Regions from separate parts of the Homo sapiens genome. Here region 1 is linked to region 2. Evidence: promoter capture Hi-C in human tissues and cell types (Jung and others, 2019). All regions are on one chromosome and are shown on one strand. The core of a region is centred on a gene start or on the middle of the fragment in contact, and the rest is flanking DNA. Distances in the headings are between cores, read along the strand shown. Region 1 overlaps DHX30 (DExH-box helicase 30). Region 2 holds the start of ATRIP (ATR interacting protein).

The links. Contacts are between HindIII fragments. The study calls those that stand out against the background at their distance.
Region 1: a fragment that was not itself captured here is called in contact with the fragment with the promoter of ATRIP in region 2 in 1 of the 25 tissues and cell types used here (lymphoblastoid cells).

The regions. Positions count from the first base shown.
Region 1 is chr3:47,810,442-47,817,795 of GRCh38, reverse strand. It overlaps DHX30 (DExH-box helicase 30), which reads right to left. Exons shown (of 22, transcript NM_138615.3): 3 at 7,085-7,139. The coding sequence starts at 7,112. Among named protein-coding and RNA genes, the nearest start is that of DHX30, 11 kb to the right of the region's middle. RefSeq lists an enhancer at 1-214. The HindIII fragment of the contact is 3,517 bases long and covers 1,677-5,193 here.
Region 2 is chr3:48,441,079-48,448,873 of GRCh38, reverse strand. It overlaps ATRIP (ATR interacting protein), which reads right to left and starts at 2,137. Exons shown (of 13, transcript NM_130384.3): 1 at 1,782-2,137. The coding sequence starts at 2,028. It overlaps ATRIP-TREX1 (ATRIP-TREX1 readthrough), which reads right to left and starts at 2,095. Exons shown (of 15, transcript NR_153405.1): 1 at 1,782-2,095. It overlaps TMA7 (translation machinery associated 7 homolog), which reads right to left. Exons shown (of 4, transcript NM_015933.6): 4 at 4,666-5,026. The coding sequence ends at 4,992. It also overlaps a transcript of CCDC51 not described here. RefSeq lists a silencer at 1,833-2,192. The HindIII fragment of the contact is 4,147 bases long and covers 1,939-6,085 here.

The DNA.
Region 1 (7,354 bases), core at 2,186-4,685, 630 kb after region 2:
AACTCTTCCTGTTCCCTTAGCTACCCCCTATGAGGTTAACACCCATCCTATATACTTCTCTTAGTCTTAAGTTGTGAGGATGTGACAGGACAACAGGAGAAAGCTGAAAGCCTTGGTACTACATCAACTCAAAAGCACCACGTGTCTGCTTCTTATGGTAGCTACCTACGCCTTTGCTATGCGTTCCCCAGATGGCTACCTCAGCCACCAAATCTCAAATCATTCTTTCCCTCCAAGAGCTGGGTAAGAGAGGGACGACTGGACTATGTGGGTCCAGCTTGAGAGCTAAAACCAGACGCACACTTACCAGCCTTCTCCCTCTTTCTAAAAGAGAACAACCTGCCATTCCAAATACTTCCATTCATTTGGGGGCTAAATGCTACTTATTAGTAACCAGAAAGTACATTTCTAAGAAGTCCCAACAACTTGAGGTACATGAACGAAAATTAAGGCACTGAGTCTTCCACGGGAAGGTGGAAATACATGGGTAAGGAAGGTGGAAATATATGGGTAAGGAAGGCTTAAGGTCCTTTTAAACCACCTAAATGGTGACATTCAGAGAGTCACTAGTCTTGGGGCTGGGAGAAATGCATGCACTCTTTGCTCTCTTTGCCCCTCTGGTTTCAGTACAGTAAATGGGGTAGAAGGGGAGCAGAGATGGCCACACACACCTGAAGCTTGAGAAACCACCTGTTCTACAAAGATGTTCATTTGTGGAATGCAAATTGACTCATATACAATTGGTAAAGAGGAGAAAGATATCAGTAAAACAAGACTCTTGTTTCAAAAAATTCTGAAAGCAAAGGAGCTGAAAAAGCAGGAGTAGAATTATAATCTTCAGCAGGAAAGAAAAAGCCCTTTCAGCTATTTTTTTTTTTATTAAAATTGAGTGCCTATACCTATAGAGAATCAAGGTGGTAGATACAAAGGTGTTCACTATACAATTTCTTCAATGTTTCAGTATTTTTGAAATTTTTCACAACAAAATGTTAGGGGAGAAGCAAGTCCTGCACTCCAACCCTCCTCCCCCACAGTCCCAGCTGCACACACTCCTTCACCACAGTGGCTGTTTCAGAACTCCACCTCCACCTGGGCTTCCTCGGTAACTGCCAGCTCTGCTCACATTAGAAGGCTCTTTGTAGCCCGGCGCGGTGGCTCACGCCTATAATCCCAGCACTTTGGGAGGCTGAGGCCAGCGGATCACAAGGTCAAGAGATCGAGACCATCCTGGCCAACATGGTGAAACCCCGTCTCTACTAAAAATACAAAAATTGGCAGGGCATGGTGGCGTGTGCCTGTAGTCCCAGCTACTCAGGAGGCTGAGGCACGAGAATGACTTGAACCCGGGAGGCGGAGGATGCAGTGAGCCGAGATCGCGCCATTGCACTCCAGCCTGGCCACAGAACAAGACTCCGTCTTAAAAAAAAAAAAAAAAAAAAGAAGACGGCTCTTTGTACATTTGCAGCATCACATCACCCTGAGCTGCCTGTCTAGGTAGTCCAAAGCATCTTCCCAAGCACCAATAATTGTTTTTTGTCATATTTTGGTCAAAAAGTTGCAGTTGCATTGGCCCAATTCTATTTTTCCCATAAGCTCTCTTATAATATTATAGATGTGTGATTTTTTTCTTTTTATTTTATAGGTATGTGATTTTACAGAAAACATACATAGAGTTACAGCAGACGTGCTTGTAGGATCTTCTAGAACTAAATGCCTAGGATCAAGGTTTATTTTGAAACTAATTCCAGTTCTGCCTTGAAGCTAAGGTTGGAAATGACCAGCTCAACCTCTCCATTCCTGTTTAAGGAGGGTCCTCATTCACATCCAGGGATGCTGGATTGAAAAAAAAAAAAAAAGAATAAATGATTCAATGATTAGTTATTATCTCATTAAGCATTTTCAGCAATTGGGAGAGAGTTGTTACAATCCCATAACTTCACTGAGCCCACTTCTGACCATGTACCTGGAGAGAAAATGCACATTCTTGCTATTGATCCAGTGTTTTTCAAAGTTTTGTGCTGGCTGTGAAAGACTCAGCTTGCTCTTTTTTTTTTTTTTTTTTTTTTTTTTTTGCTCTTTTTTATTGTTCAGCTTGCTCTTTGTAGCCTGAGTCCGATGGCATTACAGGTAAGAAATCAGACAGCTAAGTTAAGATGCTCGCAAGGGCAGTAACAAGTAACTTACCAGGAACATGGGCATTCTTACCAACAGCTTTGTTAAATTACATAATGAGAAAGATGGTAGCTAGCCACAAGACCCAGTGGGCCACCATCCACAATGCTGCATGGAATTGCTATAGCTGTTTCCATCAGAACCATCAAATGGCCCATCCTATTGAGGCTATAAGCTCCAGAGTACCAAGAAGCATCTCTGAAACAGAGCTCTCTTCACCCTAGTGTCTCCTACACAGCAGGTGCTCAATCATGCAACCTCACAGCACACTGCATGCTGAGGCAAGGCTATAGCTCTCCAGTATTTATCAAGGGCATACCATGCCCAAGAGTAAGGGTTGAGCACCGACCATAGCCAGGTGCTTTTCCTATATTTCAGCTCTAATATCTTCACTGTAGTCCTGAAGATAGCAGGTAGGAAACAAGATCAGGTAAGTTAACACCTTGCTAGTATTAGGGAAAGCCAGATTCAAGCCCCAGTCAATGAAACTCGGGAACCTCAAGCTTCACATCAACTTACATTTCCTCTCAAGGTTCATGACACCCTAGGAACTCATAATTTGATGATGAAGAGCAAAGAAACATGTAAAAGGAAAACTCAAGCCAAGCACAGTGGCTCACACCTGTAGTCCCAACACTTTGGGAGGCCAAGGCAGGAGGATTACATGAAGCCAGGAGTTTGAGAACAGCCTGGGAAACATAGGAAGACCCTGTTTCCACCAAAAAAAAAAAAATTATTTTTTTAATTATTTTATTTCTTAAAAAAATACAGAACAAAACAAAACAAAACTAACTAACAAAAAACGGCCGGGCGTGGTGGTTCACACCTGTAATCCCAACACTTTAGGAGGCCAAGGCGGGTGGATCATGAGGTCAGGAGACTGAGGCCATCCTGGCTAACATGGTGAAACCCCATCTCCACTAAAAATACAAAAAATTAGCCAGGCGTGGTGGCTGGCGCCTGTAGTCCCAGCTACTCGGGAGGCTGAGGCAGAAAAATGGCATGAATCTGGGAGGTGGAGCTTGCTAAAAATACAGAGAGACAGGGTCTCCCAATGCTGTCCAGGCTGCTCTCAAACTCCTGGCTCAAACAATCTTTTTGTCTTAGCCTCCCAAAGTGCTGGGATTACAAGCATGAGACACGGCGCTCAGACAGGAAAAAAAAATTTTTTTTTCTTTTTTTTTTTTTTTTTTTGTTTTGAGACAGAGTCTCGCTCTGTCACCCAGGCTAGAGTGCAGTGGTGTGATCTCAGCTCACTGCCACCTCTGCCTCCTGGGTTCAAGCGATTTGCTGCCTCAGCCTCCCAAGTAGCTGGGATTACCATGCCCGGCTGATTTTTATTTTTATTTTTATTTTTTTTTAGTAGAGACGGGGTTTCACCATGTTGGCCAGGCTGGTCTCGAACTCCTGATGTCAAGTAGTCCACCCACCTTAGCCTCCCAAAGTGCTGGGATTACAGGCCTGAGCCACCGCGCTCAGCTGAGGATCGTGATTTTTATTGGGCTTTCCATCTCTTTACAAAATCAGTACTATTAATTCAGAGACACTCACCATGAGAAAACCTGCTTTCATCGACCTTTTACAAGTGGGTAGACAATAAAGCCCACTGGTTAGTAAGTAAACACAAAGTGCTAATTTTAGCTAAAAAAAAAAAATGTGCTGCCCACACTAATCTCAAGTTCAGTTTTTTCCTTCTTACATACAGCTGGCCAAAAAAAAAAAAAAAAAAAAAGCCCAGGATGACAGAAATAAATTTTTTCAAACAATATGAAAACAGATGGAGTGGCTGGAGATACACAAGGAGGCAGGGACATGCTGCTCTCTGAGCCCTAGTACGTCCAGCCCTCCTTCTGGCCCCATTCAATGGGTTACACAGGGCACCACTTGGCCAGGGGTTTCCCAGGCCTCGAGGAACACAACTTAGAGAGAGAGAAGACACAATCAGGAAGACCTATTTAATCAGCAGTTATAGACGTTCTGTTATGGTTCTTATTTATTTGTAAAATATCCTCAGACAGAAGCCTCAGAATCAGCTTCAACACGGGCTACAGGCCCTTTACTCTTCAGTCTCTTGAAGAAAAAAAGTCATGTTCTAAGAAATACAAAGCTCTCAGGATCTGGCCCCTAAAGTCCCCACAGGCTACTTTACCTCCTATAAACACATTGTGAACTCTACCCTATAGCCCTGTCAAGGCTCAATTCTGCCATTGCCTATGCAACCCCCTCACTCAGTGTGCTGTAGAGCACTAATTTCAAGACTTGCCAGAATTTCTTTTTGTTTTTTGAGATGGAGTCTCGCTGTTTCGCCCAGGCCAGACAGTGGCGCGATCTCGGCTCACTGCAAGCTCCGCCCCCTGGGTTCACACCATTCTCCTGCCTCAGCCTCCCGAGTAGCTGGGACTATAGGCACCCACCACCGCACCCGGCTAATTTTTTATTTTGTATTTTTAGTAGAGACGGGGTTTCACCATATTGGCCAGGATGGTCTCAATCTCCTGACCTCGTGATCCGCCTGCCTCGGCCTCCCAAAGTGCTGGGATTACAGGCGTGAGCCACCGCGCCCGGCAAGACTTGCCAGAGTTTCTATGATCACTAACGAAAGAATGACTTTGATATAGTGTGGATATTTGTCCCTACCCAAATCTCATGTTGAAATGTAATCTCCTGCTGGTGGCTCACGCCTGTAATCCCAACACTTTGGGAGGCCGAGATGGGCGAAATCACTTGAGCTCAGGAGTTACAGACCAGCCTGGCCAATATGGCGAAATCCCATCTCTACTAAAAATACAAGAATTACCCGGGTGTGGTGGCACACGCCTGTAGTCCCAGCTACTCGGGAGGCTGAGGCAGGAGAATTGCTTGAACCCGGGAGGCAGAGGTTGCAGTGAGCCAAGCTCGTGCCACTGCACTCCAGCCTGGGCAACAACAGAGTGAGACTCCGTCTCAAAAAAAAAAAAAAAGGAAATGTAATCTCTGCTGTTGAAGGGTCACAGAATGGATCCCTCATGGCTTGCTACTATCCTTGTGATAGTGAGTAAATTCTCATGAAATCTTTTTTTTTTTTTTGAGATGGATTCTTGCCCTGTCGCCCAGGCTGGAGTGCAGTGGCACAATCTTGACTCACTACAACCTGCACCTCCTGGGTTCAAGCAATTCTCGTGCCTTAGCCTCCCAAGTAGCTGGGAATACAGGTGCACACCACCACGCCTAGCTAATTTTCTGTATTTTTAGTAGAGACGGGTCTCATCATGTTGGCCAGGCTGGTCTCAAATGCCTGACCTCAAGTGATCCGCCCACTTTGGCCTCCCAAAGTGCTGGGATTACAGGTGTGAGCCACTGCGCCCAGCCTCTCATGAGATCCTGTTGTTTATTTTATTTATTTATTTATTTATTTTTGAGATGGCATCTCACTCTTGTTGCCCAGGCTGGAGTGCAATGGCACGATCTCAGCTCACTGCAACCCGTCTCCCAGGTTCAAGCGATTCTCCTGCCTCAGCCTCCCAAGTAGCTGGGATTACAGGTGCCCACCACCACACATGGCCTTTTTTTTTTTTTTTTTTGAGACTGAGTCTTGCTCTGTTGCCCAGGCTGGAGTGCAGTGGTGTAATCTCGGCTCACTGCAACCTCTGCCTCCCGGGTTAAAGCTATTCTCCTGCCTCAGCCTCCCAAGTAGCTGGGACTATAGGCGCAGACTGCCACGCCTGGATAATTTTTTGTATTTTAGTAGAGATGGGGTTTCACTGTGTTGTCCAGGCTGGTCTGGAACTCCTGAGCTCAGGCAATCCGTCCACCTTGGCCTCCCAAAGTGCTGGGATTACAGGCGTGAGCCATCATGCCCAGCCAATCTTGTTTAAATTGTGTGGCACCTCCCCAACTCTCTCTCTCTGGATCCTGATTTTTGCCACGTGACACGCCTGCTCCCGCTTCACCTTCTGCCCCTGAGTGAAAGCTCCCTGAGTCCTCCCCAGAAGCCAAACAGATGCCAGCACCATGTTTCCTATACACCCTGCAGAAATGTGAGCCAATTAAACCTCTTTTCTTATAAATTACCCAGTCTCAGGTATTTTTTTATACCAATGCAAGAACAGCCTAATACAGACTCAATCCAACTTCCACCAGTGTTTACTGAGGCCTACTATGTGCGAAATGCTGGCCAGGTGCTATGCATCGTAAAAGCACACAACAGGCCCTGGCTACAGGGAGCTTCCAATCTAGTGACAAAATGATTAATTCAGAATAGACTAACCATGAGAACGAACAGGTATGGTACCGAGGAAGATTGGAGAAAGATTGCATTTGGTCAACAGAATTAGGAAAGGTTCATGAAGGAGATGGTATAAAATACTAGCCTAGAAAAATAGGATTTTAGAGGCCAGCCACGGTGGCTCACACCTGTAATCCCAGCACTTTGGGAGGCCGAGGTGGGTGGATCACTTGAGGTCAACAGTTTGAGACCAGCCTGGCCAACATGGTGAAACCCCGTCTCAACTAAAAAAAAAAAAAAGAATTAGCCGAGCTTGGCAGCTGGTTCCTGTAATCCCAGCTACTACGGAGGCTGAGGCAGGAGAATTGCTTCAACCCAGGAGGAGGAGATTGCACTGAGCCGAGATCGTGCCACTGCACTCCAGCCTGGGCGACAGAAGTGAGGCTCCATCTCAGAAAAAAAAAAAAGGATTTTAATAAGCAGGGAGTACGCAGAAGGGGGCACTGGGAGGAAGCATGGCAAAGGCCATGGCAAGGGTTGGCACAGATTCTAAGCACCATGCAAAAGGAAGGCTATAGGAAAGGCCTTTGGAAAACCACCCAAAGAAATGTGCAAGAACTACATACTGGGGAGAGACTTTCACAGCCCTCAGAGCTGCCCATCCCAATAAGGAAGGGCATGAGGTCACAAGCACAGTTGCAGTCTTACCTTTTCTGAATGAGTCCAGGCTGAACATTTCTGGCCAGGAGGGAAAGCTGGAATCCTGAGAACAAGGAGGGCCAAGAGGCAATGGTTAATATTCCTGGTCCAGCAACCCACAAAGAAGACTTCAGTAACATGGAGAGCACTGTTCAGAAAATGAAAAAAATGAAACTCTTCACTAATGAGCCCCAACTGCTGCTCCCCAGTCTTGAGGACTGGAAGGCCAGCTCCACTCTAGAGTAATTGTCTTTGCTTCTTTCTAATTGAGCACTTTCT
Region 2 (7,795 bases), core at 888-3,387:
TAAATGTAAAATTACAACTGTGATTAAGAACTGCAGAAGAGAACAAATATAGGAAAGCCTATAATATGACAGCAATCTGACTTAAGTGGGATGATTGGAACATTTCCCTAGGGAAGACTTGAAGGAGCTGAGAGCTGAAGGACAAGTAGGAATTAACCAGATGAGTGGAAATGAATGAATGAAAAGTATACTCAATGTACAAAGAAAGAACAATGTATAAAGTTCCTGTATTGTAAAGAAGCAGAGAGAATTCAAAGAATGTTAGTGCAGCCAGGACCCAGAGAGTGAGAAAGGGCCAAACCAGGCTGGGCCTTTCAGGCCATGTTAAGGATTCTGGTCTTCACACTAGAAGAAATAAGAAATTATTAAAGGGCTTTCATTAGGGGTGTTCATGGCTGGGTGCGGATGGCTCATACCTGTAATCTCAGCACTTTGGGAGACCAAGGCGGGTGGATCACCTGAGGTCAGCAGTTTGAGACCAGCCTGGCCAACATGGCGAAACCCCGTCTCTACTAAAAATACAAAAATTAGCCAGGCATGGTGGCGGGCACAAGTAATCCCAGCTACTTGGGAGGCTGAGGCTACTCGGGAGGTTGAGGCAAGAGAATCTCTTGAACCTGGGAGGTAGAGGCTGTGGTGAGCCAAGATGGCATCACTGCACTTCAGCCTGGGTGACAGAGTGAGACTCCGTCAAAAAAAAAAAAAAAAAAAAGGGTGTTCACGTATATCTGTGTAAGACACAGCCAGATTTGAGTTTTGAAAAGATCACTCAGAATGTGATGTGAAGCCTCACTTGTAGGGAGTCAAGACTGGAAATGGGAAACCAATTTAGCAGACCATTGTTCAAGAGAGGACTCATGGTAACACAGATCAGGCAGCTGGTAGAAGCAATGTGAATAGGATAGACTCCAGAGAAGGATTAAGAAGGTAAGCTTGACATGCTTTCCAAATAAATTAGATGTAGAGTCAAGGAAAGGGGAAGAGTCGCTTTGTGCCACTGGATGGAGAGTCGTGCTAGTTACTTCCTTGTGGAACATCTGGTCATCATTCTCTGAATGTCTGCTTTGCCGGCACCATGCTAGAAGTGCTGGAGGAGGACTGGGTTTCCAGGAAATGATCGTGTTGAGTTTAAGGTGCCTTGAGACACCCAAGTACAGATGCAAGGTGCACTCAAAACATTTCTCTTTCTGGGAGTCCTCAAGACTTCACTCACTCCTCAACTAGAATGTAAGCTCCATGAAGGACAGTTTTTGTATTTTGTTCATTGTAAGGTCAGCTGCAGTTCCTCACGTTTGGGCACCTAGCACAGTTTACTGGTTGTATAAAAGAATAAATTTATTTCATCTCTTGCCTGTGTCTGGCTCCTCCCATGCTCACACTGCCCAAGGGAGACAGTGGGCTTCATAAGATCTAAAGCCGCTCAAACTTGTCACAAGAATGGGTCCCCATGCATGGGTAGTGATGGTTCTGATGGTGGTGGTAGGTGTGTTCCAAGGATCTCTGCTTAGAACCAAGAACCAAGTGGCCTAAACTTTAGAAAATAACGTAAAATGTCAACTTAGCCTTCTGTGTTTCAAATCGGCTGTTTGACCTGGCTAATGCATTTCCCCCTAAAATCAAAGGACCTTCTGGAAGACAACCGCTGCTTAAATCAGGGTGTTCCCATATTTTAAAAAGGCGAAAAGGCAGTGCTGGCCGCGAGGTTCCGAAGCCACAGCCATCAAGGGGATCTGGCGCGGTTGACAACTCCCTCCGAGCAAAAGGCCGCGAGGAGCACTCACTGGACACGTCCCGAGCCGCGGCCGGACATTGGCTCAGGGCCTGTGACGCGAGGGTGTCAAGCTCCTCCAGGTCGTCGGCAGTGAAGTCCCCATGCGCGCCGAACGGGTCGTCAGGGTCCGGGGCAGCGGCTGCGGAGAAGCCCCGGGCCCGCTTGCTCGGGGGGTGCCCGGTGCCCGGCGGCGGGCCGGGGCGAGGCGCCGGGGGCTCGCTCCGCCTCTTGCTGCCTGGCGCGGAGGTCCCCGCCATGCTTTCCGCTCACCCCAAGTATCCGACAGCGCCGAGCTAGACTTGCCTGCCGCCAGGCCGGAGAACTGGACCAACCGTCCGCGCGCCGCCGCTTGCCTCCGCCGCGAGTGCCCCGCCCCTGGCCCAGGGGCCAATCAGCTGGCAGGCGGAGGGCGCGGAGGAATGACGAACGTCCGAGCGCGCCGCCACACCCGGCCCCGCCCGGTGTTTAGAGGTCCACGGGCGGGATTCGGCAGGTTTGCTGCAAGGACTCAGTGCGGCGCGACCCGTTACCGGAGAGGCGGGCCGGAGGCGCACCAGCTCCGCCGCGCTGGTGGCTTTGCGCTCCCTCCCTGGCATTCCGTGGAGGAGGGCCGCGCAGGAGCAGCCTGCCCTAGCATTCACGCGTGTTGCGTTTGAGTCGAGCCAGGCATCATTCAGGGATGTGGTCTCCGTGACCTCGCTTTCCTTCTGCCGCCAGACCCACCTCCCACAAACCCCTAGGCTTTCTTGAGGAGAGTGGAATTTGTTGGGTGAGGAGTATGAATAGAGCTGTCGTGTGCAGACATCTTCGGGTTTAGTGAATGTTTCACATGTGTACATTTGAGGTAGGCCCAGGGAGGAGGAAAGTCCAAGGAGGAATGATGTTTGGAGCTGTTCTTGTGTGGGAGGGGGTGGGAGCTGCTCAGGCTGTTAACATCCATTCCTCTGAGTGCTGGACTGTTTTTTTTTCCTAAGCTCTGGTTGTATAGAATAGGGCTCAGGAGGTCAAGGAAGTCCCCCTGTAAATGGCACCTGCGCTGTCCTACAAGTTGAGTCAAGTTAGCAGGATAGAGGGGTAGGAGGCTGGCACATAAGACTAACACGAGAATTCTACATTGAAAGGGAGGCCACACAAAGGCCAGGTAAGAGTTACCGGTGGCGAACAGAGGTAAAGCTTCACAAAGGAGCAGCAATTTGAGGTGGGCTTGCGTGCCTGACAGATTTTATTGGGCAGCTGTGGTGTGCAGAAGTTAGCCGCAATAGAGAATTTGGCAATGGAGAGTAACAGGAGCAAGACTCTTTCAGCCTTACCTGCTCAGTGCCAAACTTCACCTGTGAGTGTCCTAGGAATATTTGTGAAAGCATTAAATGAAAAGAGTAAATGAAAAAGAGAGTGCTATCAGGGCCTATAATGTCTAAGGAGTTTAAAATTTTTTGGAGCAACTGGTAGTCTCCGTCAGATAGCTTCCCAAGTGTTGCATGCTTAATTGCTGCAGGACTCTGGTCCTGGAAAGAGACAGGACTGTTCATTTGTTAAAGAGGGATAGGTTCCACCAAGTAACTTGCTTTCAGGAACAGTGTGAATCACTGGTGCTCAGGTTTGTTTTAGCAGCATACGGCTGGGTGCCAGCTAGCAAGGCCCCACAGGGAATGCCTGAAGCCTACTGAAGGGTGCTACTGGCTGTGCAACTTTCTGGAGAGGACCAACACAGGCTTCCCCCTGCCCCCTCTCCCGCGTTAATATCTAGTACATTAATCATGAAAGTTTTCAATATTCTAAAACCTAGTTTTGATTTAGCAGTCTCATAATGGTTCCAGAGCGCTCTTCGACAATATTCTCAGAGAAAGCTGAGCATTATTAACATAATTGTATTAAGGGCCTGGGAGGGAAATCCAAATACTTGTGCTTCTGAATTAATTTTTTTTTTTTAAATACAGGGTCTTGTTCTGTCTCCCAGGCTGGAGTGCAGTGGTGTGATCTTGGCTCACTGCAGCCTCGAACTCCTGGGCTCAAGTGATCCTCCCACCTCAGCCTCCCAAATGGCTGGGACTACAGAAGTGCACCACCACACCCAGCTAAGCATTTTAAAACATATTCAGCACACATTATGGATGGTCTCTGTCTTTGCATTTATTGAGGGGCAAGCGGTAGGTATGCCTGGGACTCCAGTCCTGGGCAGCAGGAGGTAGAGTGAGCCCCCATTTTGCCTCACCCCCAACCCCTTGCCTGGCACTGGCACCCCCTCCATCCACCAGCAAGTGGGCTGGGGCTTCCCGCAGCTGCTGCCCTGGACCTGTTTGGTGCGCATGGGGACTTCACTGCTAGCAACTTGAAGGATCATGTAATTTGCCCTGCCCTGCCTCTTCCACAGTAGAGAAGTTCCTTGACAACAGGAACTGTTCCGTTACATACCCCAGTGCCTGCATATAGCAGACGCCTTACATGAACAGATGAACAAGTCTCATCAAAATATACGGCAATTTGGATGTGACAACATAAAGATGGGTTTTCTTTTAAAAGCACAAATTCTGGTCAGGCACAGTGGCTCATGCCTGTAATCCCAGCACTTTGGGAGGCTGAAGCAGGCAGATCACTTGAGGTCAGGAGTTTGAGACCAGCCTGGCCAACATGGTGAAACCCCTCTCTACTAAAAATACAAAAAATTAGCTAGGCATGGTGGCGGGTGCCTGTAACCACAGCTACTTGGGAGGCCAAAGCAGGAGAATAGTTTGAACCCGGGAGGTGGAGGTTGCATTGAGCAGAGATCATGCCACTGCACTCCAGCCTGGGTGAGAGTGAGACTCCACCCCCTCCCCCACCAAAAAAAAGTGCAAATTCTTCCACTAAACTCATGTAAGGTATTCTGTCAGGTATACAACCACACAAGAACGCCATCCTTTCAAATGAGTTGGTTTAATTTCAGGTGATACAAAGTTTAGGGTAGAACAAGGACCAAAGAACAGACTCTGGCAAGATTCTGAGCTGGTTTTACTTTAAATTCACAGTTATGGTAGGAACGACTTAGTGAAAACAACTAAAGAGATGATGAGCCACTGTAAGATTTTTCTTTTTTTACAAAAGTTTATTCTTAAATGTACAACAGCTCCAAGACAACACTTAATTCCAGCTATACGTGGCAAAAGATGTTATGGCAGGGAATAGAGAGGTTTAAATACAGATGAAATAAAGGGTCACCATCTCCTCAGGCACAAGGAACAGCTTACTTTTTGCCAGATTTCTTAATTCCACCTGTGGCTGCAAAAGAAAAATAGTCACAATTAGGGAAAAATATAGTTCTTACGGTAGAAGCCCCACGGGCCTGCTGTGGACCTTAGTAAAGCCTGGCTTTTGTATTGGGCATTCACTTTAACACAAGCATGGATAGCAGCTTCACTGATACTGTCTGTTCTAGGTAAAGGTAAAATGAGGATGAGATGGAGTACAAGCAGTGGCTGGCTGTGCACTGGTCTAGATCTACACTTCTGTATACTTCACAGATTGGCTTATTTAATCCTCATGCCATATCAACCCATTTTACAGAAAAAGAAGTCCTTTTTTTTTTTTTTTCTGAGATGGAATCTTGCTCTGTCGCCCAGGCTGCAGTGCAGTGGCACGATCTCAGCTCACTGCAACCTCTGCCTCCCAGGTTGAAGCAATTCTCCTGTCTCAGCCTTCCGAGCAGCTGGGACCACAAGCCCTGGCTAATTTTTGTATTTTTAGTGGAGACGGGGCTCACCATATTGGTCAGGCTGGTCTCGAACTCCTGACCTCAGGTGATCTGCCTGCCTCAGATTCCCAAAATGATGGGATTACAGGTGTGAGCCACCGACCCCAGCATTTTTTTTTTTTTTTTTTTTTTTTGGAGATGGAGTCTTGCTTTGTCACCTAGGCTGGACTGCGGTGGTGCAATTTTGGCTCACTGCAGCCTCCGCCTCCCAGGTTCAAGTGATTCTTCATGCATGAGCCTTCCGAGTAGCTGGGACTAAAGGCGCATGCCACCATACCCGGCTAATTTTTGTATTTTTAGTAGAGATGGGGTTTGACCATGTTGGCCAGGCAGGTCTCGAACTCCAGACCTCAAGTGGTCCACCCACCTCAGCCTCCCAAAGTGCTGGGATTACAGTCTTGAGCCACCATGCCCAGCCAAAAAAGAAGTCTTATTGTTAGGTGTTGTTCAAGTATGTGACAAGCCAGGATCCCAACCTGAGTCATCTGACTTCAAAGTCCACATTCTTAACTGCCATGTTACACTACCTTCCATATTATGATCCTGGCACCTGGTATACTCTGTCAATTTACAAATGACCATATATGTGGAACGCAGTAGGCGATTTAAGAAACAGCATAGGATTGGGCCAGGCGCGGTGGCTCACGCCTGTAATCCCAGCACTTTGGGAGGTGGAGGCGGGTGGATCACGAGGTCAGGAGATCGAGACCATCCTGGCCAACATGGTGAAACCCCGTCTCTACTAAAAATACAAAAATTAGCCGGGCATGGTGGTGTGCGCCTGTAATCCCAGCTACTCAGGAGGCTGAGGCAGGAGAATCACTTGAACCTGGGAGGCGGAGGCTGCAGTGAGCTGAGATCATGCCACTGCACTCCAGCCTGGGCGACAGAGTGAGACTATTTAAAAAAAAAAAAAAAAAAAAGTGTAGGGTTACATATGCCTAATACAGGAAAGAAGATCCAAAGGGGCCTGACAAAATAAACCTTAAAATAAAAATCAGATGATGCTCAATGAGAAACAACTAGCATAGAGTTACACTAAAGACTGTTCTTTCCCCTATACACAATCACAGATTAAAAGAGGGTGCAAGATACCTTTTTTTTTTTTTTTTTTTGAGATAGGGTCTCATTCTATCTCCCAGGCTGGAATACAGTGGCGCAATCCCAGCTCACTACAGCCTGAACTCCCGTGCTCAAATAATCCTCTTACCTTGAACTCCTGGGCTTAAGCGAGGCTGCCTCAGCCTTTTAAATAGCTGGGATTACAGGAAACGGGCCGCCACCACCACCACGCCCAGCTAATTTTAAATTTTTTCTGTAGACAGGGTCTCCCTTTGATGCTGTGAACTCCTAGCCTTAAATAATCCTCCTGCTTAGGCCTCCCAAAGCACTTGGATTATGGTCAGCCCATTCTGTGCCTGGCCCCTTACACCATTCTGAAAAGGAATCTCAAGAGCTAGAAATCTCAGTGCTGGGTAGGTAAACAATAATGGATCAAACCCACTGGGAGAGAGGTCTTGGGAAGCCCTAGATGACACTCCCACCATCCTTGTCTCCATCATGCCTAGCATGGCTCACAGTGCTCAAATGGGGGCATAAACAACTGTGGAGGAAATAATCACTAGTTGGATCAATGTAAAATAATGCTTATGATGCACATAAAGTACTAGAACTGCTGGGCCTGAAAAATATTTTGAAATGTAATGAATTTCTCCTACATAAAAGATGTAAAAAAGGTGGAGGATTCAGTTAGAAAAGCATATGGAGCAACAGCACACTGAAGAGCCTGGACTTTATCTTTTAGTCTAGGCATACCCAGAAGTAAAAAGACTCAGAAAGCAAAAAAGCATATATTAGAGATAATATAAGCAGTACGAAAAAAAAAAAAAAGTTGGCCAGGTGCTGTGGCTCACGCTTGTAATCCGAGCACTCTGGGAGGCAGAGGCGGGTGAATCACTTGAAGTCAGGAGTTCGAGACCAGCTTGGCCAACATGGTGAAACTCCGTCTCTACTATAAATACAAAAAAAAACTGGCCAGGTGCGGTGGCTCACGCCTGCAATCCCAGCACTTTGGGAGGCTGAGGCGGGTGGATCACGAGGTCAGGAGTTCAAGACCAGCCTGGCTAAGATGGTGAAACCCCATCTCTACTAAAAATACAAAAATTAGCCGCACTCCGTCTCAAAAAAAAAAAATTAGCCAGGCGTGGTGCCAGGCGCCTGTAATCCCAGCTACTTGGGAGGCTGAGGCAGGAGAATTGCTTGAACCCGGAAGGTGGAGGTTGCAGTGAGCCGGGATC